Regions from separate parts of the Homo sapiens genome. Here regions 2 and 3 are each linked to region 1. Evidence: promoter capture Hi-C in 16 types of primary human blood cells and fetal thymus (Javierre and others, 2016). All regions are on one chromosome and are shown on one strand. Each heading gives the region's core, a stretch centred on a gene start or on the middle of the fragment in contact. The rest is flanking DNA. Distances are from core to core; before and after follow the strand shown.

Region 1 (2,700 bases), core at 157-2,656:
TCAACCAAGCCCTCACACACCCGGGCCGTCCCATGTTCTCTGGCTCACCTCTTCTGGTAGCTTAGAAGTGGCAGCCTCAGGGAGGCTTCTGTTTGGTAGAACTTAGAAGGAAGCATGTGGGAAATGCAGATGTCTTTGCTTTTAGGATTCTGGCTCCCTGAGATCAGAGGAGTGGGTTCCCGTACGGGGGTGGCGAGGCACAGGGAGAAGCATTGGAGCAGACTCTGTGTGTGTGTGTGTGTGTGTGTGTGTGTGTGTGTGTGTGTCGGCGCGCCTGTGCGTGGAGGGGGATAACTGTACCCAGCGCGAGGCACTGGGGGAGGAGGAAGCGGTAGCAGAGATCTGAATAATTGATTCTTCAGCCGCACCAGACGCCCGGGAGCGGGCGGAGAGCGTGGTTCCAACACCACGGACAGCAGCGCGCGCCGCCGCAGGCGCCCCCGTCGCCAGCCAGCCACCTATCCTGGCCTTATTTGCCGCCGTGCGCTCTCGGAACGGGTGGCCGCGCTCCGCGTCGCCGCCGAGGGACTGCGGGGTCTGTCTCGACCCACCTAGGAGAGAGGCTGCGGGCAGGAGACGCTTTCGCCCGCCGGAGCTCGAAGCCTCTTGGGCTTGAGCGGGGGCTACTGCGTCTCGCCGGCTGAGAACAAGTCCCTAAGTTGGTGTGGAGGGCGCCGCTACCTTCCTTCTCCTCTTCCTCGGAGGCGACCGCAGCAGAAAGACGCCCCGGGAACCCGGCTTTGCCAGTGCTGTGAACCAGGGTGTCCAGGCGCTCACCGGACTCCCGCTGGGAAGTGGGGAGCCGAACGCCCGGCGCGGAGCTGGCCCAGCAGCGAAGGGCCCGGAGGGAGCTGCCTTTCCCCGCCCGCGCCTCTCTCGGCCGGGGACCGCGGGGATCCCCGGCCACACGCGAGCGCGCTCCCACACTCACACACACACTCGCCCTCAAACACACCAGCCCGGAGCTGGGTTGCGGAGAGGGTGCTCCGGCGCGCTCAGAGGACCGGGCAGTTGCCGTCCGGAGTGGGGCAGGAAGCGGAGCTAGGGATCTTGGAGGGGAGCTCCTAGGGCTTGGCCGGATCATGGGACCGGGTGAGCGCTGAGAATCGCGGCCGCAGCCATCAGCCCTGGAGATGACCAGGAGCGGCCACTGCTGAGAACTATGTGGAGAGAGGCTGCGGTGAGTGCTAGCGCGGGACGCCGGGCCTGGGAGGCCCCCTTGGGAAGGGGGGAGGTGGGAGGCCTGAAGAGGGAGGAAGCGGCAGGATCACAAGAGGGTCGCTGCGTGGGAAAGATCCACCTCCCTCGGGGAACCGGGACCGCGGGAGCCCGCGTCCTTCCCTCCCCCTCTCCTACTGCTGGCTCGTCACAAACTCAGCCAGCGCCCCCCCACCCTCGTTACCTCCTCTTTCTCTCCCTACCTCCCTCGCTCAGCAGCTCCCGGTCGCACAACTCCCAGCAGCCGGCGCTGGGGAGGTGGTAGGGGGTGCGGGTGGAGGTGCCCAGTTAGCTTCTCGTGGGTGGCCAACCTGGGGCTCCCATTCTCCTGTGCACCCTGGAGTGGAGCTCCCGCTATCAGCCACAGGGGCTGAGGATCCGCACTGGGGGCGTCGTGGGCATCGGGCTTCAGCTTCCCCCCTCTTGTCTAGCCCCCCTGGGCGCATAGGGGGGCTTGTGAGCACTGCAGACTGCAGCCTTCCCCTCAACCCTCCCTCCCCTCGTTGGTGGGCTGACCCTGCCTCTCCTTCTCTCCTCCGCCCCGTTAGAGCCCTGCTGCAGAGCCTCCGGCTGGGATAGCCGCCCCCCGTGGGGGCGATGCGGACAGCGCGGGACAGCCAGGGGAGCGCGCTGGGGCCGCAGCATGCGGGAACCCGCTAAACCCGGTGGCTGCTGAGGCGGCCGAGATGCTCGTGCGCGCAGCGCGCCCCACTGCATCCTCGACCTTCTCGGGCTACAGGTACGTCCCAGAGGGAGATCAGGGCTCCTTGGGCCGGGGAGGAGGGAGACTCGACCGGAGGGAGAGCGGGAGAGGGATCAGGCTAGAGAGGGAGAGGGAAAGCGGGAGGGAGCCCAGCGGCGAAGTGCAGGAGGGGCACCAGGGGGCGCTGCGGCTCCGCGCTCCGCGGCGCTTACCCAGGAACGTCGAGGCCTCTTGGAGTTCGCCTCAACTTCCCCCGGCTCCAGCAGCGTCCGTCCCGAGAGGCGCGCGTCAGGGCACGCGTGCACGACCGTGCTGGTATTTGCAGGTACGCAGGGCTGTGCACCTGCCGCAGTTCATGCGTGTGCACCACCTGAGGACATGTGAGGACTCCGGCTGGCCGTGGGCACCGCTACAGCAGTCTGAGGAAGTGCGCAGAAAAGCGCGCGTGCCTATGAGCGTGTGCGGCCCACTGCCCACGTGCACCTAGGACTTGGCAACAGCGCCCGCAGTAGAAAGGCTAGGGAGGGGCTGTACAGTCCACGTCCGTCTGGGAGCTTCTTGGGAGCCTACCTTTCCCCCTACGCACGTTCTTTGCCAGCTCCTACGCGCTGGCCCGCGGGGGGACGCGCCTACTCTCCAGAATTCAGCATTGCACACGGCGCGCGTGAGAGAGGGTGTGTGTGTGTGAACATGTGTGTGTGCGTGTGTGTGTGCACGTGTGTGTGCACGCGCGCGTGTAGGGGTGAAGGACTCTCCACGGCCCCTTGGCTCGAGGTGGG
Region 2 (2,700 bases), core at 161-2,660, 530 kb after region 1:
AGAAAGTTCTACGGAATAGCGCTGATTTAGAGACAAGGTATACCCTCCCTGCATGTCTTGTGCCATCAAGAGATCATGCCTCATTTAGTTATGACTGCAACATCATACTTAAGATGCTCCAGAGACCCACAAACCTACCCCCATAAGGTTACCACCCAGGAATAACCCATTTGGAAGGCAATTATGCGATATGAATCATGAAAGGTGCAATTAATCAAAGCAAAAGGCAGAGAAAGAAGCCATGGCATGTGGCGGCTGCTCCAAACAGGGAAACCTTCCTGAGGAAAGAGCAGGGAAGCACACATGAGCATCCCCTCAGCCACACCTTGTGCCCTTCCCTGGCCCCAGGACCTCAAAGCTGTGTTTCATGCTATTGCTGTATGGCCTTCCTCTGTGTCTCTGGAGCTTGCCTCATAGGACCCTTTATGGATATTAAATCATTTAGTTCCAGCATAGGTCCATGCATATTATGTGCCAGGAATACTGCTAGACACTGTGAAGAAAAATCCATTATCATCATCATCCCCAGAATCACCATCATCATCATCATCACCACAATCACCACTGATCATGAGAATTGGGTTTAAGGCCGACTCTGCATCTCACTTAGGTCTGGCACAAGCCCTTTGTGGCTCTGGATCTCAGTTCTGGATCATCTGGAAAATAAAAATTCAGAAAAAAAATGTGATCATCAAATGAAATGATACATGTGAAAAATCTCCCCTGCAAGCTGAGAAGTACTGCTCTGAAGGTCACTGTTTTAATCGAACTTCAAGGTTAGCCCTATGGCACCAGTGAGCTTCAGATGGCTGGCTCAGGGAAGAAGAGACTTGTTCAAGTCCTCATTTTACATATGCGCATAAGTGAATACGGGCTAAAATGGCTTTTGTGAATGGACACAGACAGCCAGAGAAACAGAGGGGGACTGAAATTTCCCAATTATACATCTCTCTTCTTTCCATTCTGATTATCTTTCCATCGTTGGCCAAGCTGTGAATTCCTCTCGGCTTTCAGGACCCACAGGCTTTAAGTGGGCTTTTATTATCTGAGGTAAGTAAAAAAGGCCCTGGAGATCATTCATTGAACACTTAGTATGGGCCAGATGATTGACATCCATGCTGGTGTTTAATCCCTATAGGCAGACTATAGAAGGGGAAACAACATCAGAGAAGTTCAGCTTACTGCCCAAAGACACACCACTGGCAATTGACAGAGGAGGTGACCAAGCCCACATTTTTCTGACTTTGAAGCTTTCCACAGCTCACTGTCTCCTGGGGCAGGAGCAATTTGTAGTTGCCAGGGGGTAGAAAGAGGGTTGGGGGGAAGGATGCTTCAGCTATCAGTACCAGGGCAGGGAAATATTGGAGCTGCTTTCCCATGTGCTGATTAAAATGTCCAACAGGACTGACCACCCTCGGAGGTGATGTTTTGCTAAAGCCCCTTTGTCCCTCCACCTGGCTAAGAGAGGACAATTATTGTTACGGCAGAGCTTCCTGGAGGGAGGAGGTACAGGTGATCACTGGGGAGTCTTCCAAGAAAATTGAGAAGCCCCCTCCAGGCCCAAGCTTTGGATTTCCTCTTCCCTGTTGGAATCTGCATGCTTTTCTTTTTACTTATACTTAACCAAACTTTTAGGTGAAGACAGTTCTGGAGGAATTTCCTGATTAAATGAAGATGAAATATTCTCAAATTATTTTAGGCAAACTCTACTTCTATTTCCTGCTTAGAGTAGAAATTAAAATCCAACGTTAACCTTTTAGAAAGATCAAAGTAAGTTCTGTTCCTGTATATTTATTCCAACTGCCTCCTTCTCCTCTGCCTCCTCTTCTCCTTCCTTCCTCTCCTTCTCCTTCTCCTTGAAAATTTACGTCTTGGGTTAGGATGAAGGTAGTAAACTTAACAGGGCATTAAAGGGTAGTATTTACAAAAGTTATTGTTAAAGCCCTTGACTTCAGCATGTGTTCTCTTTGCTTATTGATCAGCACACCTATGCTAGCATTGACTGGCATGCCCATATTAGCATTGTTTAGCATGCTCATACTAGCGTTCATCAGCAGGTTTATACTAGCATTGATCAGCACACCCATACTAGTATTGGTAAGCACGTCCGTACTAGCATTGATCGGCAGGCTTATACTAGCATTGATAAGAACCCCCATACTAGCATTGATCAGCATGCCCATGCTAGCATTGATCAGCATACTTATATTAGCTTTGATCAGCATGCCCATACTGTCATTGATCAGCATGCCCATACCAACATTGACCAGCATACCCATACTAGCATTGATCAGCATGTCCTTTCTAGCATTAATCAGCATGCTTAGTTCTGTGATAGCTTTGCTCTTCCAGAGATTACTCATTACTTTGCATTACAGCATTAGTCCAGCTTGCAATGCCATTTCTGTGTGTGCAGCTGCGTCCCCAGACTCCACAGCCCTGATGCCTAATAGATGTCCAACAATTATTAATTAATTTTGCTTTGTATATCCTTCAAACATTTTACACTACCTGACCTTATTTCATTTTCTCTGTCACTAGAATGTAAGCTGCAAGAGGACAGAGACTTTCTTTAGTTCACTACTAGGTCCCCTGCACTAGGAGGAGGCACTAAATCAATATTCATTGGATAAACAAAGCACGGAAGAGCCACAGTTAGCCCTGCAGAAGGAGCTGACCATCTCGAATTCTAAATTGAGG
Region 3 (2,700 bases), core at 31-2,530, 540 kb after region 1:
ATTGACAGAGTAAGTAGAAAGAAGCTGTGCAAAGATATAGAGGAACACAACAACACCCTCAACCCATCAGATCTAATCACCATTAATAGAAAGTTCCACCACCAACAACAGAATACACATTTTTTCCAGTGCTATGGAACATATTCTAAGAAGACCATGTCTTGGGTTCTAAAACAACCCCTCAAGTAACTGAACAAGAATTAATTCTTACAGTTGTGTTTTTCAATCACAATGAAATCAAACTAGAAATCAATAACAGGAAAATCTCCAAACAATTGAAAAGTAAGCAACCCATTTCTAAGTAATTCAAAGTTCAAATAGAAAGTGTCAAGGAACATTTTAAAACATTACACTGAATAAAATGAAAATACATCATATCAAAATTTGTGATATATGAGGCCGAGTGCAGTGGCTCACACCTGTAATCCCAGCACTTTGAAAGGCTGAGGCAGACAGATCATTTGAGGCCAAGAGTTCAAGACCAGCCTGGCCAACATGGTGAAACGCCATCTCTACTAAACATACAAAAATTAGCTGGGCATGGTGGCATGTGCCTGTAATCCCTGCTGCTCAGGAGGCTGGTGCAGGAGAATTGCTTGAACCCGGGAGATGGAGGTTGCAGTGAGCTGAGATCACACCACTGCACTCCAGCCTGGGTGACAGAGCAAGATTCCATCTCGGAAAAAAAAAAAAAAAAAAGAAAGTTGTGATATATAACTAGTCGATGGTGGTTATTGGAGCATCATTCTCTGATACCAGCATCTCCCAAGAACCAGATGCAAACCATATGACTGCTTCTTCTGGGTCAGCAGGGCTATTTCTGTGCCTAAAAAGGTGGACAGAATGAAACACTGTTACACAGATCCCAGGCACAGGCCTGGCTGACATTCTGTGACGGATATTTAACAGTGAATGTGTTATAAATTACCAGAAATGAGGCATTGCAAAAGACATGGGGATGGGACTCCCAGGTGTCTGAGCAATAGACCGAAGAGCCTAGAAAATTGTTCAGCCATTCATCCAGACTGATAAGAATCCCATGGACAGGAACACGAAATGGTGTTACTGTCTCCTAAAGGGCTCCATCAGCGGCTGCTGTCACTGAGGCTAGGTCGGGATTGCAGACCACAGTCTGGGAAGCAGAAGGTAGCAGGCTGAGATACTAATGGACTTTGTGGTATTAACTGTGTTTGAGAACGCTGAGCAGCCCTGGTGAATAGTGGGATGGAAGCCACGGTGTAAAATGATGCAGACTCTTTTTACAGGGGCTAGAAGTTCTCCTTCTTCCAAATGCATGAACACAGCTGAAAGCCTTTGACCCAGAGCGGGATGTTCTTGGTTTGTTTGGATGGAGTGGCCTCAGATTTTAGGGTGCTGAGGCTAAAGCCAGTAACAAAGAGGTGAGCTCCAAGAGCCGATAAAGTGAGTTGCTCTTATGTGCAGAACTTTTCAGGGGGGTGCTAAAGCACAGAATTAATTGAGCATCTCTCCTGGTAGGCCTAAGAGACATTTGACATTCTGGACCATGATTTTCCACCCACACTGTCTGCCTGATTCTTGTTAATGACCCATCACAATGGTTTTGCTTCTCTGCTGCATAGAGTCAGAGCTGGACCTGATGACCTTCTTAAGAGCAGTCAGGGAAGCCTGAACTGCATGAAGATCAGGTAGATGACCTTCAGTGTTCTCCTGACTGACAGGTTACAAACTACAGAGGTTAAATGTCAAGACTAAAACTTGTCTTTCTAAGAAAATGTTTCCCCCTCTTGTCTACTGGTGAAAATGACATTAGGAAGGATTATATAGACTTGAGAAGCATGGCAAAAGGGTCAGGGCAGATTATTTAGTTCCAGAGATACTGTCTGCGCTGGGGAGGCAGGTGGCAGAAGGGGACAATTGAGTCACTCCATATTTATACTGGTACATCTCAATTTTATATTTATTTTTATTTATTTATTTTTTGAGACAGCGTCTTGCTCTGTCACCCAGGCTGGAGTGCAGTGGCGTGACCTCGGCTCACTGCAACCTCTGCCTCCCGGATTCAAGCGATTCTCCTGCCTCAGCCTCCCAAGTAGCTGGGATTACAGGCATGCGCCACCATACCTGGCTAATTTTAGTATTTTTAGTAGAGATGGGGTTTCACCATATTGGCCAGGCTTGTCTCGAACTCCTGACCTCGTGATCCACCCACCTCGGCTTCCCAAAGTGTTGGGATTACGGGCGTGAGCCACCGCGCCTGGCCTGCTTCTCAATTTTAACCTGTGTGTGAATCACCTAAGGACCTGAGCTTCTGACTCAGTATAGATCTGGCGTGGGGTCCGAGATTCTGCATTTCCAAAAAGCTCACAAATGATGCTGGTGGGATGGGGACAATGCTTTGAAGAGAGAGATTCCAGACCAGACCAGTGGCTGAGGGAGTCATCTCTCCTCCCCTCATCCGCCTCCAGAACAGAAACTGGATTAATGGCAGGTCATTGAGCTGGTACCAGAAAGAATATTTTTATTAATCAAACCCCTACTCTGTCCTAAGGGCTTCCCCTGCACCGAGGTAGGTGTCATCGTCTCTATTTGAGAGATGAGGACTAATATGGTTTGAATCTGTGTCCCCACCAAATCTCATGTTAAATCGTAATCCCCAGTGTTGAATGTGGGGCCCGGTCAGAGGTGATTGGATTGTGAGAGTGTGTATTTCTCATGAAT

Evidence for each region. The method cuts DNA at HindIII sites, captures the fragments that hold promoters and counts their contacts. A CHiCAGO score of 5 or more calls a contact.
Region 2: a fragment that was not itself captured here is called in contact with the fragment with the promoter of GRIN2A in region 1 in 1 of 17 cell types (endothelial precursors); the score reaches 5.2 in endothelial precursors.
Region 3: a contact is called between a fragment that was not itself captured here and the fragment with the promoter of GRIN2A in region 1, in 2 of 17 cell types (endothelial precursors and M1 macrophages). The highest score is 5.7, in endothelial precursors.

The regions. Positions count from the first base shown.
Region 1 is chr16:10,181,134-10,183,833 of GRCh38, reverse strand. It overlaps GRIN2A (glutamate ionotropic receptor NMDA type subunit 2A), which reads left to right and starts at 1,406. Exons shown (of 13, transcript NM_001134407.3): 1 at 1,406-1,957. RefSeq lists silencers at 2,139-2,198, 2,209-2,318. The HindIII fragment of the contact is 14,826 bases long and covers 1-2,700 here.
Region 2 is chr16:9,653,407-9,656,106 of GRCh38, reverse strand. No RefSeq gene overlaps it. Among named protein-coding and RNA genes, the nearest start is that of LINC01195, 200 kb to the right of the region's middle. The HindIII fragment of the contact is 315 bases long and covers 1,253-1,567 here.
Region 3 is chr16:9,636,819-9,639,518 of GRCh38, reverse strand. No RefSeq gene overlaps it. Among named protein-coding and RNA genes, the nearest start is that of LINC01195, 180 kb to the right of the region's middle. The HindIII fragment of the contact is 3,105 bases long and covers 1-2,700 here.